Linked DNA regions of Homo sapiens: all the other regions are linked to region 1. Evidence: promoter capture Hi-C in 16 types of primary human blood cells and fetal thymus (Javierre and others, 2016). All regions are on one chromosome and are shown on one strand. The core of a region is centred on a gene start or on the middle of the fragment in contact, and the rest is flanking DNA. Distances in the headings are between cores, read along the strand shown.

Evidence for each region. The method cuts DNA at HindIII sites, captures the fragments that hold promoters and counts their contacts. A CHiCAGO score of 5 or more calls a contact.
Region 2: a contact is called between a fragment that was not itself captured here and the fragment with the promoter of ITGA2 in region 1, in 1 of 17 cell types (naive B cells). The highest score is 5.3, in naive B cells.
Region 3: a contact is called between a fragment that was not itself captured here and the fragment with the promoter of ITGA2 in region 1, in 2 of 17 cell types (naive CD4 T cells and activated CD4 T cells). The highest score is 5.6, in naive CD4 T cells.
Region 4: a contact is called between a fragment that was not itself captured here and the fragment with the promoter of ITGA2 in region 1, in 2 of 17 cell types (M0 macrophages and naive CD8 T cells). The highest score is 6.7, in M0 macrophages.

Annotation. Positions count from the first base shown.
Region 1 is chr5:52,987,938-52,990,651 of GRCh38, reverse strand. ITGA2 (integrin subunit alpha 2) reads right to left here and starts at 1,300. Exons shown (of 30, transcript NM_002203.4): 1 at 1,120-1,300. The coding sequence starts at 1,183. It overlaps ITGA2-AS1 (ITGA2 antisense RNA 1), which reads left to right and starts at 366. Exons shown (of 4, transcript NR_186583.1): 1 at 366-562; 2 at 2,376-2,448. RefSeq lists a silencer at 1,347-1,496 and an enhancer at 1,961-2,714. The HindIII fragment of the contact is 2,612 bases long and covers 1-2,329 here.
Region 2 is chr5:54,187,955-54,190,678 of GRCh38, reverse strand. All of the region lies in intron 1 of ARL15 (ARF like GTPase 15), which reads left to right. Among named protein-coding and RNA genes, the nearest start is that of ARL15, 120 kb to the left of the region's middle. The HindIII fragment of the contact is 533 bases long and covers 1,023-1,555 here.
Region 3 is chr5:54,304,465-54,307,249 of GRCh38, reverse strand. All of the region lies in intron 1 of ARL15 (ARF like GTPase 15), which reads left to right. Among named protein-coding and RNA genes, the nearest start is that of ARL15, 4.7 kb to the left of the region's middle. RefSeq lists an enhancer at 1,915-2,578. The HindIII fragment of the contact is 5,398 bases long and covers 1-2,785 here.
Region 4 is chr5:54,210,219-54,212,918 of GRCh38, reverse strand. All of the region lies in intron 1 of ARL15 (ARF like GTPase 15), which reads left to right. Among named protein-coding and RNA genes, the nearest start is that of ARL15, 99 kb to the left of the region's middle. The HindIII fragment of the contact is 5,856 bases long and covers 1-2,700 here.

The sequences.
Region 1 (2,714 bases), core at 51-2,550:
GAATAGCAAGTGGCTGAATGTCAGTCTCAAAGGAGGACAGCTTAGGAAATATTTATCTTCTTTGTAAAAAAAAAAAAAAAAAACCACACACACACTTTAAAATCAGAGACAACTTTTTTGTTTTGTTTTGATCGCTGTTCAAACTACATTATACAAACGTGTCTCCTTCTCCCTCCAAATAAACTAAAATTCTTAAATTTGACCACACTCTAGCTCTGCCTAATGGTCAGGGAAAAAGTACTCAGGCGATGGTCCCACAAAAGCTCTCCACCCCAGCCTTATTTCCTCCTCTTAGTGTAAAAGAACTCAGGAGGTGGGCGGGCCCCACTGCCACAGCACTACAGTTAGAGCGGCTGCTCCGGCTTATTCTCTCATTGCGGCATCTAGGATCCAGAAGTGAAAAGAACTTTTCCTAGCCTAAGTTTACATTCGTCGAATAGACAATGTTACAACAATAAGAGGAAGGCAGAAGGGAAGGAAGAATTCCCCTCTGCCAAGTATTTAAGTGGCGCTTGGTTTATTCCAAGTCCCCCCGGGAAGAAACACAGCGCTTCGTCCTCAAGTAAGAAATAGAGGCATTATTCACATCCTTGGGTTGAAAAATAAGCATTTTGGGGCTCGCAGGCTTCTGCAAAGCCAGCAAGCACCGCGCTGGGGAGCTGCAGGCCGCCATCAGCAATGGATTCCGGATTTCCCTGGTCTCTGGCAGGCGCGGCACCTGTCTGAGCCAGGGGAAGTTGGGCTGCAGGACTCGCGGTCTCCAGGACACCCGCGGATCCCCACACTGTCCATGCTTGAGTGCGTGCGTGTCTGTCTGTGTGTGTGTGTGTGTGTGTGCGTGTGTGTACCTAAAACAAAGCACTCACTGAGATGACTTTGGAGGGTGCTTAACAGACAGGGCGAGACGCGCCTAATGGGGACGCAAGGCCTGGGATAGCAGGAAGGGAACGAAGAAGTATCTCTTTCCAAGCAGGTCCTGGTGGCTGGGAGCCCGAGTCCACGTGGAATCCGAGGGAACACACGGAGCTCGCTCCCTAGTTCCGCCCAATCCCTCCAGCGAGCCCCAGGAAGCCGCGCGGGTCCCTCCTGCAGCCGATGCAGAGCGAAATCCCCGCTTACCTTGACTGAGCGCTAACACCAGCAGCAGCGGCAGCGGCGCGGCCCCTGTCCGTTCTGGCCCCATCCTGGGTCTGACCGGGGGACCGTAGTTGCGCTGGGTTTGCAGAGGTTTGCAGAGGATACCCTTGGCCGAGGGATACGAGAACCTGCACACTCTAGAAGCTGTCCAGAGGGCTTCTCTCCCCCGCCCGGTGAGAGCAGGGAAAAGTTTCTGGGCAGCTCCTGCAGCGCCGAGGGCCCGCCCCAGCCCGCCCCTCCTGATTCCGCAAACACCGGATCTGCTCCGGCCGCGCCCCGCCCCACCCCGGCCCTGCGGCCCCGCGGGCTGCACCTCGGCTCGTCCACACGCGGGGCACCGCACCTTGGCTCCCGTACAGCGGCCCAGCCCCGGCAGCCTGGAGGCGGTGGGGATGGGGATGGCGCCCTGGCAGGCTTTCCTGCCCTGGACGGGACGGGTGGGCATATCCGACGGGCGAGCGCCCGCCCTGGCACCACTCCGCCCCCGCAGCCTGTCGCCAGCACGCAGGAGATGCCCCAGTCCCCGGGAGAACGTGGCCCCTCCGCAGCCCTTGGCAGCGCCCGGCTCCTGGCAGCGGGTGCCGAGGGCACTAGCCCTAAACCACAGTGCCTAGGGGCTGCGCGGTGCGTCCCTTTCTCTGTTTTTCCTAAGTGGGTGGAGAAAGGGACAAAAATAAGCGCAGAATGACCAGGTTAGAAACTAACTCATCAGGAAAGAAGATCTGCTCACAAGTTATGATTATCCAAGGTGATATTTAAGCAATACCTGCTGCAAGAGCTGTGTGTGTGTGTGTGTGTGTGACAGAGAGACAGAGAGAGAGAAATCATCATTACTTCCTCTCCTCCGAGATAATTAAGAGCTGATTTAATGACTGAGTTTAGGAGATTAACTTCAAGGCCAGAGAAAAGGCTGAGAGCCCATACATGCACTTGTGACTCTCCCTGTCTACATTACACCATGACATAGACTGTGACCATTTTCTTCCATTATTTCAGTCTCACATCTGGAAAGAGAACATTCTATATCCGAGATTTTTAGTTAAAAACCTAAGAAATAGGATATTAATTTTTCTTGTCTGAATCTTATGTTTTATCCAAAAGTTTGGCCACAAATTTCCAGCACATTGCTGAAACCAGAATTCTTCCAGTGACTACTTTTGTGAAGGAACGAACTGTTTTCATAAATCAAGCTTAAGGAGTTATGAGTCTAATAATCATCATTATTGTCATCATTCCAGATCTTCATGGAATGCTACTATGAGCTGAATGGGATGCCTGAGATACTGCCTCTAGGAAGCAAAGTGGCTCAAGGTGGGAAGGACTTAATAATTCATAAAAATCAAGCTCTTCTCTTTACTATAGATAGGGCTGATGTGTCACATTGTTAAAGTATTAAATTGGTATGCATCAGATGTTGCTGCTGATGGCTTATGACTAATACCCTTTGAACCCAAATTATATAGTCCCAGGCTCTTTCCTGTTTTCTTATCAGTCACTTACTGGCTGCACTTACTCACCTTGACAAACACCTGAAGGCATTTTTTTCTGAATTGTCTGGGGTACTCACCTGCTTACTA
Region 2 (2,724 bases), core at 40-2,539, 1.2 Mb before region 1:
TCTGGGGGCTATGGCCTTATGAATGGGATTAATACCTTTATCCAATGCTTCCAGGAAACTAGCTAGGCCCTTTTCATCCTTCTGTCTTCTGCCATGTGAAGATGTAGCAGAAGGCCCTCACCAGACACAAAATGCCAGTGCTTTGATCCTGGACTTTCCAGCCTCCAGAACTGTGAGAAAATGAACTTCTGTTCTTTGTAAATTACGTATTTTGTTGGAGCAACAGGAACAGTCTAAGACAGTGGCCATCCTAATGATATCTCACTGTAATTTTTTTTTTTTTTTTGAGACAACGTCTCATTCTATCACCTAGGCTGGAGTGCAGTGGGGTGATCTTGGCTCACTGCAACCTCCACCTCCTGGGTTCAAGCAATTCTTCTGCCTCAGCCTCCTGAGTAGCTGAGATTACAGGTGTATACCACCACACCTGGCTAATTTTTTTGTATCTTTAGTAGAAACGGGGTTTCACCGTGTTGGCCAGGCTGGTCTCGAACTCCTGACCTCAAGTGATCCACCTGCCTTGACTCCCAAAGTGCTGGAATTACAGGCGTGAGCCACCACACCTAGCCCTCACTGTAGTTTTGATTTGTATTTTCCTGATGATTAGTGATATTGAGCATCTTTTCATGTACTTAATTAGCCTTTTGTATATCTTCTTTGGAGGAATGTCTTTTCAAATTCTTTGTCCATTTTTGAACAGTTTTTTTATTGTTCAGTTTTAGGAGTTGTCTACATATTCCAGACATTGATCTCTTATTAGAGATATGATTTAAAAATATTTTTTCCCATTCTATGGACTAACTTTTTACACTATTGACATTTTCTTTTGTTGTACCAAATGTTTTAGTTTTGATAAAGTTCAATTTGCCTATTGTTTCTTTTTTCATCTGTGTCTGTGGTATCATGTCCAACAAATTATTGCCAAATTCAATGTCATGAAGCATTTGCCCTGTGTTTTTTTCTAAGAAAAAACTTTCTATGTTTCTATGTTTTTTATACTTTTAGGTCTTACATTTAAAGCTTTTATTCATTTGGAGTTAACTTTTGTATATGGCATTAGGTAAGGGTACAACTTTATTCTTTTGTGTGTGCATATCCAGTTTTCCTAGCACCATCTGTTGAAAAGACTGTTCTTTCCCACTGAATGATCTTTTCACCCTTGCCCAAAATCATTTGACCACATATGCAAAGGTTTATTTTGGGGATCTCTATTCTATTTCATTGGTCTATATGTCTGTGTTTATGCTAATAACATGTTCTTTTGATTACCGGACGTTTGTTTTGAAATCTGTATGTGTAAGTCTGGAGCTCCAGCTTTGTTCTTTGTTTTCAAGATTGTTTTGTCATTTGTGATTCTATATGAATTTTAGGATGGGCTTTTTTATTTCCATAAAAAAATTATTTAGATTTTGATAGGATTGCATTGAATCCATTTGGGTAGTGTTGACAGATTAACATTATTGTCTTTTGTCCATGAACATGGGATGTGTTTCCATTTATTTGTATCTTCTTTAATTTCTTTCAGCAATGTTTTGTGGCTTTTATTGTACAAGCTTTTCACCTCCTTGGTTAAGTTAGTTCTTAAGTGTCTTATTCTTTTACGTGCTATTATAAATGGAATTATTTTCATAATTTCCTTTTCAGGTTGTTAATTATTAGTGTACAGACATGCAACTGATTTTTGCACATTGACTTTGCCAGTGACATGAACCTGTATGTAGAAAACCCTAAAGATTGCACAAAAAAAATGGTTAGCTTGAGACGTAAACCTTAGGCAAAGAGAAGTTTGTGATTTGTAAGAAATTTAAAATTAATAGGATTAAAAAGAGAGCTGTGGGCCTTGTTATGTATTTGCTTTGGAAGCCCTCTAAGAAAATTTCAGGTCAATTTTTTATTCTCTGCCCTACTGGAATGCCCCCAGATTATGTGACAATGAGGTCTTATTTTAATATGTGCAGAATTTGTTAAGACTGACATTCTTTGTTTCAGATTTTTACATATCAGAGAATTCTTGCATTTTTCTGGTGATGTCTTATTCCTCTTGTGTGGGTCCCAAGTGAGCCCTGATCCTCTCAGATACATTTTATATACTCTGTTGGTGATGAATATTTTATCTCTGGCAAATACTGTCCATGTCTAATTCCCTTGAGGACCTTGGTATCCAATATTATTGTAATTATAAAATCAATGTTAACACTAAAGTCAAAGAGTCATGAGCATGCCCTTTCTTGCTTGTGAAGAGCCATGGGGAGATAAGCAGTCTGTTCAGGATGGAGTCATAATTCCTTGTATAGAATATCATAAATTATTTCCACAGATTCACCAAGCAAATGAGGCCTAATGTCCTTTTCTATAAAATACATGCCTTTACCTAATCCTTTCCCTCCCACTCCCATTCCCCCACTGCTTTTTCTTAACATGATAGTTTACTGTGAGCCTTCAGGTTTTTTTCCTTTTGGGAAAGCTGAGTTTGTTAGCCAAGGACCTTTATTTATTTATTGCTAACCATAAATATGATTGCTCCATTTTTTGTTGCATGTTCCAGATGAGTAGTTTTTTTTATTCTTGTTGTAACAGTTGCTTCACAATTATGGTGTGATATGCAAATTGGAAAAGGGAGACTTGAGGGATTGTACCTTACTTAGACAAACATGTCAAAAACCAGAATGTTTTTATTTAAAAAAGAAAGAAAGAAAAGAATGGCTAGTCACACATCCTTAAGGA
Region 3 (2,785 bases), core at 256-2,755, 1.3 Mb before region 1:
TCTTAACTTGAAGATGATCAAGATATAATCCTTTTAGCCAGGGTGGCAATTTAAACATAAAAATCTCTGTTTTCCAGTTGATGAGTGAATCTTCCTAGAAGGGCACACAACTTTTCCCCTTTCCATGATGGGGTTTAAAGGCCATGTTTACATCTGCCAAGTCTCTGGGTAAACATTTAGCTGCTGTCCCAACAGGCAGTACCAGCATCTTACTCTTTCTTCTCATAGGTAGAACTAGTAACACAATGTGCAGAGCTTTTTGGATAAGGTAGGAGAAAATAGTCAGGTTAAAATGAAAGAGAAAAACACATTTCTCGAGTTTTCCTGGGAGGTTGGACAAGATCAACTTCTAGATTCCTTTCAGTTCAAAATTTTCTGTCTTGACTCATGTGATGATTGATCTGGAATTAACCTTTTTTCCCTCTGCGCCATCAAAACAACAGTGGTAGAATTGGTTGTACTCTGTGTAATACCTATGATGATTAAATGAGATAGTGGAGGGAAAGCCATTTGTAAACAGTACGTTGCTTTTCAAATATAAAATGTTAACGTATTGTGTGGCTGGGCGAGGTGGCTCACGCCCGTAATCCCAGGACTTTGGGAGGGCAAGACAGGCGGATCACTTGAGGTCAGGAGTTTGAGACCAGCCTGGCTGACATGGAGAAACCCCATCTCCACTTAAAATAGAAAAATTAGCTGGGTGTCGTGGCGCATGCCTGTAATCTCAGCTACTTGGGAGGCTGAGGCAGGAGAATCGCTTGAACCCAGGAGGCAGAGGTTGCAGTGAGATCGCACAACTGCACTCCAGCCTGGGCGACAGAGTGAGACTCCGTCTCAAGACAAAAAAAAAAAAAAAAAGTTAACGTATTGTGATTATGTTGCTGATGTTACTTTTATACCTCCTGTAGAATGACTGTTACTGCTTAGTGGTATTGAAATACCTTTTAAACTAGTCTCAATTTATGGAAATACTGGGAGTTGTAATCAACAAGCAGGAAGTCACAAGACTCTTTTAAGAATCTTTTAAAAGCTACGAAAATAAAACCCATTTGAATAATTTATCTATTCAACAAATATTTATGGAGCCCTTACTTTCTGCATGGCCCTGAAAGTCATGCGGGATGAACCCTCAGCTGTAATATCCTCCTTGACTGCAGGACTGGCAGTCGTGTGGCTCTAGAGGAACCTGTGGCAGGACAGGTTAAGTAAGGCACATAGGGGAGGGGGTAGCTTCTGATGTGCTTCTTTGCTTTCTAGTACATTTCTCTCATTTTGTGTGTTTTATTGTGAACTAAAATATAAACTTAGACTTGAAAATGTGACAAGTAAAAATGGTTGATTAGTCTTGGATGCTAATTGTCAATTAATATTCATTGCATTTGTTTATAGTAGCCTCCACCCTCCCATCCACGGTTTTACTTTTCAAGGTTTCAGTTAACCATGGTCCACCGAGGTCTCAAAATAAGTGAGTAAAGTACAATAAGATATTTTAAGAGAGAGAGAGACCACATTCATATAACTTTTATTACTGTATATTGTTATCATTGTTCACTTTTATTATTAGTTATTATTAATCACTTACTATGCCTAATTTACACATTAAACTTTATCATAGGTGTGTGTGTATAGGAAAAAATATAGTGTGCTCTGTGCTATGTTAGTTAGTTCTATGATAGCTCAGTACTATCTGTGGTTTTAGGTATCCACTGGGACTTGGAATATATCCCCCATGGATGAGGGGAAACTACTGTACCGTGTTGGGGATTTTTTATTTATTTATTTTTTTTTTGTGACAGAGTTTTGCTCTTGTCATGCAGGCTGGAGTGCAATGGGGTGATTCTCCTGTCTCAGCCTCCTAAGTAGCTGGGATTACAGGTGCCCACCACCATGCCCAGCTAATTTTTGTATGTTTAGTAGAGACGGGGTTTCACCATGTTGGCCAGGCTGGTCTCAAACTCCTGACCTCAGGTGATCCACCTGCCTCGACCTCCCAAAGTGCTGGGATTACAGGAGTGAGCCACCGTGCCCTGCCAGTGTTTGGGATTTAATAAGATTAGATTTGATAGGTTAGTTTAATAAGATTTCTTTGTATAGACTGGTGGACTTGACCTATTTAGTTTCTTGGTTATAGGCTGTATCTGCCATCATAAAAATGTATGTCTCAGTGGGGAAGATGTGGTGAGAGAATTGGGTTGATCATCACAAATCTGTCACCATTTGCAGGATAAAAACCAGCTAACTAACCAACAATAGAAACCCATGATGTGCTACAAAGGGTAGAGCCCACAGGCACTATGAAATTGTAAAGGATCCTACTTGAAAAGAGGAGTGAAGGTACATTTGTGATTTCATATTATGTTCAGTTATCTGTGAACTGAACTTCTTTATTGATAAAAAAAAAAGTACATTGTTTCGTTGTTTTTAACCCTGAATATCTATGAACATTGTAAGTTGTATTTATTGTGACTAACTTTAAAGTGATAATGTAGGTCACTTTTTAGTCTAAATGTCGAGTGGATTAGGCAGTCATATTAAATATTCCTTTCTTAATAATTTATAAGATAAAAATTATCTGAGCACAATAAACAGATCTACCATATATGGAGTTCATATAGCAAAAATGTTTTGAGCAAATCCGTACCATTAGGTAGGAACTTTTCTACAAAGGTGTTAAGTCTGGTTCCCAAACTTCTGTGGCTCCAGTCTAACAGTATGAGCCCTAGGAGAGGACACATAGGGACCTTGATTCATGCCCTCCAGGGGCTTGCATTCTGAAAGATGCCAA
Region 4 (2,700 bases), core at 159-2,658, 1.2 Mb before region 1:
TGGGTAGGTTAAGTGTTTTGGCTAAGGTCATAAAACTGGGCTGGCAGGACTGCTATTCAGATTTCTCACTCTGCATCTCCCCCCCATTAAATCACTACTTTTAGGTAGCTAACAGTAGATTCACTCTTATTTGTTCCCCACCCCTACCACCAAACATGCTTAATCTTTCTCAATCTCCATTTGACTAATTAGTTCACAGCTAAGAAAGCATATTTTCTTTGAGCAGATTATGCCAATAGAGAAAACAGAAAAAATAGTCCAACAGGACAAACACTGTTCATTGTACACCCAATAGCCATTTATCCTTCTTGCTAAAATACCCTGGTCTGAGGCAGCAATGTGTCTAGCCCCAGGCAATGAATGAACCATGATTGGTCTAAGCCACTTAGACTCCTGTGTTCCCTGTTTTCTCAGCTTCTCTTACAACTAGATGTGGCTGTGTTGCTCGGTTCTGACTAGTGATCTTATGGGGGAGGGGGTCTGCTTGAGGTTCTGTGGGGAAAGTTTTTGCTTTCCTGTGAAAAGGGACAGATGTGGCCTTTTCCCTTTTCTACCTTCCTTTTCCCTTTTCCTCTTCTTAAACAGAAATGTGACATCTGGAGCTGATGTGCCCTTCTTACTACCTTACAAAAAAGGCCAGCTTCTTTTTAATTAAGTCTCATTTGTTTAAACCAGGGATTGACATTTTGGTTAAACCATTGGTTGGCAAATTATGACCCATTGGCTGATTGCCTATTTTTGTAAGTAAAGTGTTACTGAAACACAGCCACGTATTGACTGTGGCTGCCTTCATGCTATGACAGAGTTGAGTAATTGTGACGGAGACTATATGGCCTGCAGGTCTTAAATATTTACTCTCTGGCCCTTTAGGTTTGGTGATGCCGTTTAAAGCACCTAACATGAATTTTCTGTTACTTGTAGCCAGACACATTCCTAATGGAATCAACCAATAACCAAGATCCTTAAACAAATTAGTGACTTGGCATTTCTTCCTACTCAAATTACTCTTTTCTGGTTAAGTAGGTGTGCTCCAGATAAGCATATTCCTCATTTTGGACTTTATCTACTCCTCTTTATTTCCTTCCTGAACTCTCTGATTATCATATTCTTTTTAAAAGTAAGATAAGAGTATAAAAGTATTTCATTTGGCCGGTCACGGTGGCTCGTGCCTGTAATCCCAGCACTTTGGGAGACTGAGGCGGTCGGATCACCTGAGGTCAGGAGTTCAAGACCAGCCTGCCCAACATGGCAAAACCCTGTCTCTACTAAAAATACAAAAAATTAGCCAGGTATGGTGGCGGGCACCTGTATTCCCAGCTACTCGCGAGGCTGAGGCAGGAGAATCGCTTGAACCTGGGAGGCAGAGGTTGCCGTGAGCTGAGATTGCACCACTGCACTCCAGCCTGGGTGACAAAAGTGAAACTCTGTCTCAAAAAAAAAAAAAAAAAAAAGTGTTTCATTTAAGCGCTGCCTAAAACTAATGTCAGCTCTTTGATATTCCAATCTTTTAACTGCCCAAGGAATTATTTTCTAATGCTCAGATAAAATTGTCAGGGCTTTCACTCGGTGAGTAGGGTCTATTCATGGATCTTAAAACCTGAACCGATAGAACAGCTCTACAGCTCCTTGTATTCTGCTCCCAACCTTCCTGTCCCCTCCAAACTTGTTGCCCTTTGTGGTCTGGTGGAAGCAGGAGAAAACCCTGCAATAGCCCCCACTCTGTGACATTTTGGAATACTTTGTGCATACCAAACAAACCACTAACTTGATTTGGGAAGATAAACTGAAAATACATTTCTAGTTCAGTAATAGCTATAATTGGACAGTCTGTCTTTTGAACAATAAAAATAATCCTAGTTTCGTTTTGTGTAAAGATATAACATCTTATGTGTGACTGCAAAAATAAGCAAAAACTACTTATTAAAATATGTGTATTTTCATTTTGTTTGCTGACAGTGTCAGGTAGTAATTGTGCTGGTTTTGCAGACTCTGTAATGTGTTATTGCAGAAAAAGCACTAGATTGGGTTCTATGAGACTGAATTAACCATGAGTTGTTTGTCAACTGAATTAACTTCTCTGTGCCACAGTTTTGCATCTCAAGGAAAAGAGATTGAACTATGTGGCATATAAGGTCTCTTTCAATTCTAATATATTTGTATTTGTAAATATTCTTCAGGGTGGCTAGAACCTACTTGAGGATTAGTCAATTCAAATAATAGCAACAGCAGCAACAACTGCAACAAAACTTCCTTTGGAAAATCAACATACTTTAGTCAGAATGGCCCTTTAATTTTTAAGGCCCAGATGCCTCAAAGGATTTGTCATGTACAGTTATCATTTGTTGTCAGAGGACTATTCTGGGGGATAGAATGTTATGGGTGAATTTGGGTTCTGTGATGGCCATTTGCAATGCTTTAGCTTGATAATCAAATATAATATATTTCACAATACATTTATCATTTTGTTGAAATAACGTAATGAGTGAAGCCATTGTCTTGAAGTACAAGTTTCCAAGAGAATATTCGGAGCAAATTGGCTGGAAAGTGAGTGGATTATAGTAAAATAAAATAGATAATAGGCATTATTTTTAATAAAATGTTCTTGCCTTGCTTAAGAAATATAGTTCATGAAAAAGAAAATTATAATTTGATTGGGAGGATTTTATGGTAATGATGCCTGTGTCACAGAATCTTACAATA